Linked DNA regions of Homo sapiens: regions 2 and 3 are each linked to region 1. Evidence: promoter capture Hi-C in human tissues and cell types (Jung and others, 2019). All regions are on one chromosome and are shown on one strand. The core of a region is centred on a gene start or on the middle of the fragment in contact, and the rest is flanking DNA. Distances in the headings are between cores, read along the strand shown.

The links. Contacts are between HindIII fragments. The study calls those that stand out against the background at their distance.
Region 2: a fragment that was not itself captured here is called in contact with the fragment with the promoter of RASGRF1 in region 1 in 3 of the 25 tissues and cell types used here (IMR-90 fibroblasts, heart right ventricle and spleen).
Region 3: a contact is called between a fragment that was not itself captured here and the fragment with the promoter of RASGRF1 in region 1, in 2 of the 25 tissues and cell types used here (H1 embryonic stem cells and psoas muscle).

The regions. Positions count from the first base shown.
Region 1 is chr15:79,089,048-79,092,566 of GRCh38, forward strand. It overlaps RASGRF1 (Ras protein specific guanine nucleotide releasing factor 1), which reads right to left and starts at 1,733. Exons shown (of 27, transcript NM_001145648.3): 1 at 1,176-1,733. The coding sequence starts at 1,451. The HindIII fragment of the contact is 16,697 bases long and covers 31-3,519 here.
Region 2 is chr15:79,056,134-79,059,507 of GRCh38, forward strand. RASGRF1 (Ras protein specific guanine nucleotide releasing factor 1) reads right to left here. Exons shown (of 27, transcript NM_001145648.3): 3 at 2,201-2,348. Among named protein-coding and RNA genes, the nearest start is that of RASGRF1, 33 kb to the right of the region's middle. The HindIII fragment of the contact is 6,925 bases long and covers 1-3,374 here.
Region 3 is chr15:79,124,430-79,127,549 of GRCh38, forward strand. No RefSeq gene overlaps it. Among named protein-coding and RNA genes, the nearest start is that of RASGRF1, 35 kb to the left of the region's middle. The HindIII fragment of the contact is 4,826 bases long and covers 1-3,120 here.

The DNA of each region.
Region 1 (3,519 bases), core at 483-2,982:
TTTTATTTCAACCAATTCAATCACCACCAGTCTGTGTCTTCATGCAGCAGTGGCTTTTGAGATCTCGGTTGTCTTTTCAGAACATTGGGACGGCCTCAACAACTTGCATGACGCTGGGCAAGTGAATTTCTCTCTCTGGGCCTCAGTGTCCCCATCTAGGCAATCACCAGCCGTTAGGCCCTATGGATGGAAGGTTCCTGCCTGCAGTGGCATTTTAGGATCCACTATCATCTGCTTTATCTTCCTAGTGGCAAGGGACTGGACCAGATGCTTTTGGAAAGCGCACCAAGCTTAAAGGTGGCTCTCTCTGCAGGTGCCCCTCCTCCCTTCACGCCAGAGGCTCACCCCCACCCCGCCCGGGCTCCCTGTTAGAGCCAGGCCTGGCTCTTCAGCCTTGCAGCTCAGGAAACCAGAGCGCAGCGCTATAGCCGCGACTGCGGCGGCGGCGGCGGCGCAGGGGGCGGGGGAGGAGAGAAGCGCCCACTTCGTCCCGCTGCCTCCGCAGCAGCCCTGGCCCTAGCCCCGGCGCATCAGAGCGGTCCTTGGGAATCTTTGGGCTTGTTGCTCCGGCGGCCGCCAGCTGGGAGCCCACCACCGCTCGATGGTACCGAACCGACCCGTGTAGCCCCATAACCCCAGCCCAACTCCGAGGAGCTAGCGCAGACCGCTCTCCGCCCTCAGCTGCGGCGAGGCAAGGGCTGGCAGCGCTCGGACGCCTCCGTCTTGCCCTTCCCATGCCTAAGCGCGGGGAATTACACGTTCCCGGTGTAGAACAGACGATCGGGGCTATTAGGGCTGGGCGGTGGGAGTGGGGGTTGGGAGCACCATTTTTGGCTGGACGTGTGTCCAGACTCATCGTCTCTGGTCCTTAGGACCCCATCTTCCTCTGCATCTCCAGGTGTCGGCCCCTCTGTACCCGCCTCCCACGGGGCTCGTCCGGCGAAGGGCAGCCGCAGCCCACATCTACTCCCCGCCCTCAATCCCTGCCCCCTCTGCCCGCCGCAGTCACTCGCCTGGCTGGGAGCAAGCCTCCCCTCTCGCTGAGGGTGCAGAGAGCGCCTAGGGCGCCAAGAGTAGAGGGGCCAAAGTTCAAGCGCCATCAGCCAGCCGAAGGCCCTGAGCCCCCAGGGCCGCGGCCGGGACGCAGGGAGGTCAGGACGCGACGCTCGCCTCACCTGTTTCTCCAGCGGCTCCTTGGCCGACAGCGCCGGCTTGGGGGAGGGCGCGCGGTCGCAGACGCAGCCCTCCAGCAGGTAAAGCCCCGAGGGCCGCGAGCTCGAGTCGCTCTCGAAGTAGAAGAGCAGGTTCTGCAGCAGCGCGAACCACTTGGTTTGCCATTTTGTGTTGTCCGAACTCCGCTTGCTCAGGTAGCCTTTGCGCGTGCCGTCCTTGCGCGCCAGCAGTCCCAGGGACGCGACGTGGCCATCATTCAGCCGGATCCCCTTCTGCATGGTGCTCAGAGGCCAGCGAGACCCCACGCGCTTACATCTTCTCCGCGCAGCAGCCCCCCGTCCGTGCGCGCTGCGCGCTGCCTCTCTCTGGCGCTCGCTCGCTCGCTCCCTCTAGCTCTCCCCTCCCCCCAAATATCTACACTCCAGGATCTGGCGCCGAGCCGCGGCTTCTTGAATCCAGATATACCATTCCCCGCTGGAACCTCTTCTCCGCTCCGCAGAGCCCCAGTACCCGGAAGATGCCGCCCGACCCTCCTCCGGTGCCGGGCAAACTGAGGGACTGGCGATCTGCGCGCTGGCGAGGGGCAGGCGGAGTCATGTGACGCCGATCCCTCGAAGAGCCCGTTTCAGCAGCGCGGACAGGGACACACGCACGCAGCCCCGCCGAGGCGCAGAGCCGCGCGCAGGCTGCAACTTGGTGCCTCCTCCCCCTCCCCAGACACACACACACGCACACGCACACGCACACACTCAAACCCTGCCCTCCCTCCCCTCATCTCCCCTTCTCTCCCTCGGATGTTAAAAAGCAAATCAGATCAATTTTCGTTTAACCCAATGAAACCCCGAAGGCTCGCCATCCCGGGAGTTTGCGTCTTTGCGCCCCACCGCGGCGCACTGTAGACCTGGGGTTAAGTGCCAGTTGTCATTTTCTCCTCCAAAGGCTCGCCCCCCCCCCCCACTTTATTTCTAATACGAGGTGGAAGGAGGAAGGTGGGTGGCGAAATAGAGCTGCAAAAGCGTCCAGTCCTAGTCTTTGCATAGTCAGCCGGGTCACATTGAATTCCAGCATCCGGCTGCACTCCCGGCGGCTTCCCCAGCTACCTGAGGACAGTACAGGGGGTGAGATGGGGTGGTGGTTGGTGAACGTTGGTTACTTTATTTTATATTATTTTATTTTGAGAGTTGCCATAATTACCGGCGCCACCCCCCGTGCACCCTGAGGTCTGGTTGGCGAGCCGCTGCTGGGAGTTTTCTGCAAATACCCCCCAAAGCCTGAAGGCGGGCTTCAAACGCAGGCGCCGGGGACCATGGGAGCCTTCAAATAGCTGCGCTGGCGCAATGATACCTTAATGATAGATTTTCCGTTCTTATTTTTAGCTCTCATTCGCCTACACAGTTACACGGCATTTATCCGAGAACGTCACAGCGCCCGCATGCTGCACCGGGAGGGCGCGCGGGCCGCCGGGCGAGCCGGGAGCTGGGGCGGGGAGCGCGCATCGCTGTCTGCCGCAGAGGGCAGCGAGCTCGCCCCGACCCGGAGCAAGCCGCGCCTGGCCCGGGCGCTTTGCAGCGGGGATGGGTGCCCGCGCAGCCCTGTGAAGGAAAGACACCATCTTTCCGCACGGAAACTGCGTATACCCCTCCCCCGACACACACACACACACACACACACACACACACACACACACACACCCCACACTCACACACAGCACACACCACACACGCACAGATACACACCACACACCACACACCCACACACCACACACACCACACACACACACCACACACACCACACACACACACCGCACACACCACACACAAACCATACACCACACACACCACACACGCACACACACACGCCACACACACCGCATACACAAACACCACACACCACACACACACACCATACACCACACACCAACACACCACACACACACCACACACCCAAACACCACACACACCAAACACACACCACACACCCTACACACACACCACTCCCCACACCCCCCCACACCCCACCACACACACGCCACACACACCACACACAGACACCACACACATGCCACACACCACACACACACCACACACACACCACACACCACACACACACCACACACATGCCACACACCACACACATACCACATGCCACATACACACCCCCCACACTCCCCCACACCCCCCGCCACACACACACACAACCCACACCATACAAACACCACACACTACACACAACACCCCCACACTCCCCACACCACACACCACACACCACACACACTACACACACCACACCCACATACCACACACACCCCTACACACCCCTACACACCACACACACCCACACCCACAC
Region 2 (3,374 bases), core at 469-2,968, 33 kb before region 1:
GGGCATTCCAAACAGAAGCACCAGCATGTGCAAAGGCCAGGAGGCGGATAGTGCACTGGTGCCCACAGTGACTGAAGAGGTGGTGCTTGGGGAAAAGGATGAGGTCAGTGGTAGGTGATCTTCAGTGAGTGAGTAAGTGAATGAATGAATGACACTTGGACACTCTTGATCATGAAGCTAATAATCTGGTACTGGGGCTGGACTCCTTCCCTGATCCCATACAGGAGTTCAGTTTAGATTTAGCAATCTGTGTTGGGCGAGGATTGATCCCAGAATGAACTGGGTGGGCCGGAGTGGGGACATCCCTGAACTGAGCTCTGGTAGCCCTGTGGGAAGAGGCTACCAGAGTAGAGTGGAAAGACTGGCAAGCAGACAGGAGACCTGGGTTCCAGTCTCAGCTCTGCCACTTCCCAGCTGTGTGAGCTTGGGCAAGTGACTTGGGCTCTCTGAGTCTGGTTTCTCCTGTGAAATGCAGGTGACTGATCCTATCAGGATGGTTGTGGGGAATGAAAGTATGTCGTGAAGGTGCCTGTTATCAGGCTAGCAGAGATGTGTAGAATCTGGAATTTTTGTTGACCTTGAGGTTGCAAGTTGATATTACTCTTAGTTCAGGGCTTGGCTGCTGCGGAACAAGGTGAAATTGTTGGCTTTAGATCTTTGAACATTCCAGGCAGAGCTGGATTCGCAGGTGTGATGGGGCCCTATGCTCAGAAGGCTCTGCATTCGGGACTTTAAGCTCTTTTGTTGAAATTCTTAAGATAGTTTTCTCTTTGAATTGTGTTTAGTGAGTGGAATTTGATGGGACCATGAGCACACTGCAGGTTCTTGGAGCCTTGGTTCATGCATGTTCCTACCTCCCACCGCTTTTTCAGCTCCTTGGATGGGTCCTTGGCTGCTTATTCCCCACACTCTGGCATCCCAGACCCCAAGACCTCTGCTACCATCTGCTCAGGGAGCAACCGGTTGAGTCAGCTGAGGAGACTCACAGTCCACCATCACCCCCAACCCTCAGCAGATGCCTGGGCATAGGTGCAGGCTGGGGTCCAGTGTGCGCCCCATGGTGTCGCAGGGCAAGGCGACAGCCATCCCTGCTGCAGGCTGGCAGTGCCAGGGTGCATTACGTGGGTGACTCAGAAGGAGCTCCTTGCCCACCCCAGTCCAGCTACTGCGCACTTCCTGGCAGTCAGGGCAGGGGAGGCTACAGGTTGAGGTTGGGTGCTGCCTGTCTGCCATGAGTCAAGTCAGGAGGCTGTGGGACAGGAGAATGACTTCCCTGGCCTGGGCCTTGCATTTTCACCTCACATCAGACCCTGCAAATTAGATACCCAGCTGACTTCAGGAGTCTTTGTTTTCATTTTCCCCTCCTCAGTGCAAAATCTGTGGTCCTTGTATGATATGGCCAGATGGTTCTGAGCATGCTGGTGAGGTGATAAGGGGAAGAGATGATCAGATCATTCTGTGCCAGGGTTGATAGCTGGTGAGGGGCATCTAAGGGACTAAGAGCTAGTGCTTCCTAAGGTTTAATGTAAATGGAATCACCTGGGCTGTTAAACTGTAGATTCCAATTCAGAAGATCTGGGGTGGGGCCTGAGATTCTGCTCCAGGTGAAACCAATGCTGCTGCTTCATGGACCACACTTGGGGAAGCCAGGTGCAAAGAGGCTTAGTCTGGCAACAATGCCGCCTCCAGAATGCTGGCTGGTGGGCCGCTGCAGGAGCTTTCATCAAGATGGATGGAGGGAAGGGGCTGCCTTGGAGTTGAGCAGAAGCCCACACTCTAATGACCTACCAGTGACCCTGCGCTCTCCAGAGTCTTGGGCTAATAATGCAGAATGCTCAGTCAATACAGTGGCTGACACAGTAACTAGGAGCTTGCCCGTAGATAATCTCACTCAATCCTCACGACCTGGTCAGGTGTTTATAGAAAGCCCTGTTTTACAGCTGCAGAAACTGAGGCACAGGCACATTGAGGGACTTGTTCCAGGTTGCAGTCAATAAGTGACAGAGGTGAGATTTAAACCCAGTCTGACCACAGGACCTTCTCATTCTGCCAGTACCACCACGTCCTAAGTTTGGAGTCTGGAAGAACTGCATCTGGGAGCTGCTTTCCCTGCCTGTCATGTGGCTCCCCAATCCTGCAGGAGCCCAGGGTTTGAGATGTTGTGCCTAGGGCCTGGGCCCACCCCCCAGCCCGCAGTCACCTCTGCCTTCAGCCGCTCGATCTCGATCTCCCCATCCTCGATCTGCTGCCGAAGCTGCTTGGCCACGGTCTTCTCTGTCTCCACGATCTGCAGCAGGTGCAGGTATTTCTGCATTAATGCCTCATGCTCTGTGGCGAGGGTCCTGTAGCTGTGGACAGATGGACATGGCAGGTAAGATGCTGACTCCTTGTCCTCTGGCGAACCAAGCAGGGCACTGACCGGGAGAGGGGCTCACCCACCCACCTGCACTTAGCAGAAGGCCCTGACTCCCAGCACCCTGCAGAGTGAGAGGGCTTGGCAGGGTAGAGGTGGGGGCAGTCCAGGCAGGGAGAGAGCTGGAGCAAGGCGGGGCGGTGGGCCCGAGTGCGAGCCTGATCCAGAAAGCACATCTGTGTTCTTGTTCCCACCCACTTTTAAAGATAAATAACAGGGCTAGAAGAGAGAATCCTTTAGTTTATAATGCTATCCTATTAAAGTATAATAAGATTTTGTGCTTCTGTGATGAAAATGAATATCAGGTTTTTAAGTTTTTCCAACTTCTCAAGAGACTTGTTTTTCCTTGTAAAGGAAATTCAGTTGAGAGCATGAAGGAGTCTGTTTTTGTACCACCACAACTCCCCTCACCCCATGGGTGTGAAAATTCAGCTGCTTCGTTAGTCTCTTCTTACTAATGGACCCCGTCAGAGTGCTGTAAAATAGGCGTCCGCCTCATCTGCAGGCTGCTCTGCTAACCTCCCTCCCTCCTTCTGTCCCTCTTCCAACCCTCCCTCCATCCTCCTCTCCTTTCCTTTCCTCTCCTTCCTCCTTTCTTTTCCCTTCCCTATCCTTCCCTTCCCTTCCCTATCCTTCCCTTCCCTTTCCTTCCCTATCTTTCCCTTCCCTTCCCTATCCTTCCCTTCCCTTCCCTTCCCTTCCCTATCCTTCCCTTCCCTTCCCTTCCCTATCCTTCCCTTCCCTTCCCTATCCTTCCCTTCCCTTCCCTATCCTTCCCTTCCCTTCCCTATCCTTCCCTTCCTTTCCCTATCCTTCCCTTCCCAATCCTTCCCTTCCCTTCCCTTCCCTTCCCTTCCCTTCCCTTCCCTTCCCTTCCCTATCCTCCCTTATCCTTCCCTATCCTTCTATCCCCCCTCGTGCAGGTGCAATCTTTACAGACTCACAGACTCTCAGAGTGAGA
Region 3 (3,120 bases), core at 424-2,923, 35 kb after region 1:
AGTGTCTTCTGGCTGCAAGAGCTGGAATTAGAAATTGTGATAGACTGTTACTTTGCAGCTGTTGGAGAATTATGCCTCCCAGTATTTCTGTTCTTGTGTAGTCTCCTTCCACATAGACTTGAGCTTGGCCATGTGATTTGCTTTAGCCAATGGGACATTAGCAAATGTGATGCAGGCAGAGGCTCCATAAGTGCTTGCACATTGGGCCTTTTCCTCTTGCTCCCCAGCCACCATACTGTGAGGAAGTCCAGGCCATCCTGCTGGAAAGAGAGATCATACGAAGAAAATACACCGTGAGAGAGATAAGCCACAGGGAGGAGCCCTCAGCAATCAGACATGCGATCTGTATCTTCCAACCCAGCCCAGTCACCAGTCACCAGTCAAATGCAGTGAAGAGACAATACATGAACTGCAATACAGAGCAATACAGAAGAACCGCCCAGCTGGGTCTTGTCTGCATTTCTGACCTTCAGAATCTCCAGCAAACAAGATGGTTCTTGTTTTAGGCCACTGTGTTTTCTAGAAATAGATAACTGAAACAGCACTGCGGGCCTTGCTACCCATATGCATCTTTGTAGCTTCTGCTTCCTAAGTTTACTGACACCACACTTCTTTCCCTCTGTAGGTTGAGAAAATGCTTATTGAAAGACACTCAGCACCCAGTTTGAGGAAGCAGGGAATTAGGACAATGAGTGCTGAGTGCTGCCTCTTTGGTTCCGGGCAAGATGGGAGTGGTAGAGAGGTAATTGCACGTGTTTGATGGTGCTACCCAGCAGAGATGCCCACTGATGCCACTGAAATTCTCAACAAGGAGTGTGGTGAGTTCTCTGCCTCACTGTGGGGTTCTGACTTCTCACTCAAAAGCAAGAATTGAATGCTCAACTCTAGGCATGGCCTAGGAAGGCCACAAGGAGCTCTGAGTAATAGGCCAGCTTAAGATCCCTTTACCAACTGGTGAGAGCTGGAAGACCTGCCTCAACAGGGGGCTCAATTGGACCCAGGTGCTGCTGACAATCTTGTCTTGGCTGCTAAAAATCAACTGAGAAGACACAGATACAGCTGAAATCCCAGGGCTACATAAAAACAAAAGCAGAAAACAGTATTAGGGACTAATCATCCTGTAGGGTTTCTCAGTGAGTTCCATTGCTATTTGTGTCCAAAAAGCATTACTGAATGAAAATGTCACGTCTGAGCACTGAGTTTTGCATCCAGTGGTGAATGCGTACCCAAACTACAGGGGAAAATTTTTAATTCCCATAAAAATATGCAAAGTTACTAATTAAAAATCTTCCCCATCCACATTAAGATCACCAAGTGAGTAAATCTCACAAGCTGATGATTGTACCCAGTTCAGATTTTATTAATAAAATCTAATTTGTTTTCCCAGTTTTATGGATTAGATTCCCTCGTTATGTTATTTATTCCTACCACCTTTTCTTCTTGAATCACAAAATAAATGTCAATTTCAGAAGTTAGATGGTGAATATTCATCTCTCTCCCTAGAATATTGTGGGTGGGAGGCTTTTTTTCCTGATTTAGAAGGGGAAAAAAATCACAATTTAAATATGAAGTACGCATAAAAGAATTGAAAAGGTATTATAAAATGTTCTTTTTTAATTCTCTTTTTATCTCCATTCCCTGCTCTCATTATTCTTCTCCCTGTAGAAGACCATTCTAATATATTTAATGAGTATTGTTTTGTTCCTATGTCTTCCTGGAAATGTGCACTGTTGTTTTGTAGGCATGTGTTTAAAATTGTTGTTACTAGTATTATGTTACAGATCCCATTGTTTCTTCCTTTTTTTAAAATTCAGCACTGTGTTTCTAAGATCTATCTATGTTGCTATATGAACATCTGATCTACTGATTGTAACTGCTGTAGGGTACTCCAGGAAGTTCATTCTCCACATTTCACCTATTAATTCTGCCGGGGATGGACACTCTAATGGCTTCCAACCTTGGCCACATTAAGAAACATTATACTGAACATCCTTGTTCATGTTCCCTAACAAGCCCAATAAAATAAATGTCCATGCATTTACTCATGGATCATAGTGTAAGTTCATACGCCTTTATGTGGTACCAAAAAATCCAGTAAACACACTGATTTATAAAGCTGAATTTAGATTTCTTAAATTCTGTCTTCATTGTCATAATGAAAATGTCCAAACAGCTCAAAGAGTTAACATTGTGACTTTGAAAGTGCAGATAATAATTTTAGAAAAAAGTTATCTCCGAATTAATCAATACATACCCTGCGAGGGAAAAAAATGTTAAAAAACCAAATGTGTTGTATTCATTCAAAACAAACATGCATTCACAGTAAAAATTTCCTAAGATTTGTGTAATTACAGTGCATTTTCCCAGTTGAGCAATATTATGATTTGTTGGAGGGGGCTACAAAGCCACTGAGCAAATGGATCACATGTGCCCACATTTGCTAGTACATGGTCTGTTCACACAGCCTGCTTCTAAAACAACAGCATTCTTGCTTTTCTTTTCAGTTTTAGCTCCTACTTGAAAAAGTCAGATACAACTATAGACATAGGGTGGCTCTTAACCTGCCTTCTTTCTCCATGGGAGGTTACAATTTTATGCAGTGAATCGCTCTTGCTTGTCAAAATGTCCAACAGATTCAAAAGAAGTATTTTTCAATGTATTATTTTATTCTTTTTCCAGGATCTGACATTCTTGGTTCATATTGCCATTTGCATCTGACAGCTCCCTGTTAAGCTCCCAGCTCAAACTATAGAGACCTGCTTGCTTGGGAGTCTGTGGCCATTCCATGGTCATCTCAGCAAAGTCTTTCCCCTTAAGTTTAGCAGGTCTTTATTTCTTTTGTGACCTAGCTCCAGCACTCTCAAAGGATTCAAATGGGGCAACAGACTTTCATATTTTCAATCTCTCTCTTCGAATGACTCCTTCTCCAGTCTCCATTTTGTCATGTAAGCCTCCATTTTGACTCTTGCCATTATAGATGTAGGAAAAAAGAGTTTTTTCAGAGATTCCTGAGCCCTCCCAAATTGTTGGGAGAGTGAATCATCTGAGCTTTGGTTTGGCCAACCCTCTGCCCCTCAATGTGCACGTGGGGAGAGTTTTCCTGGAGCTGGCTAAGCCCCC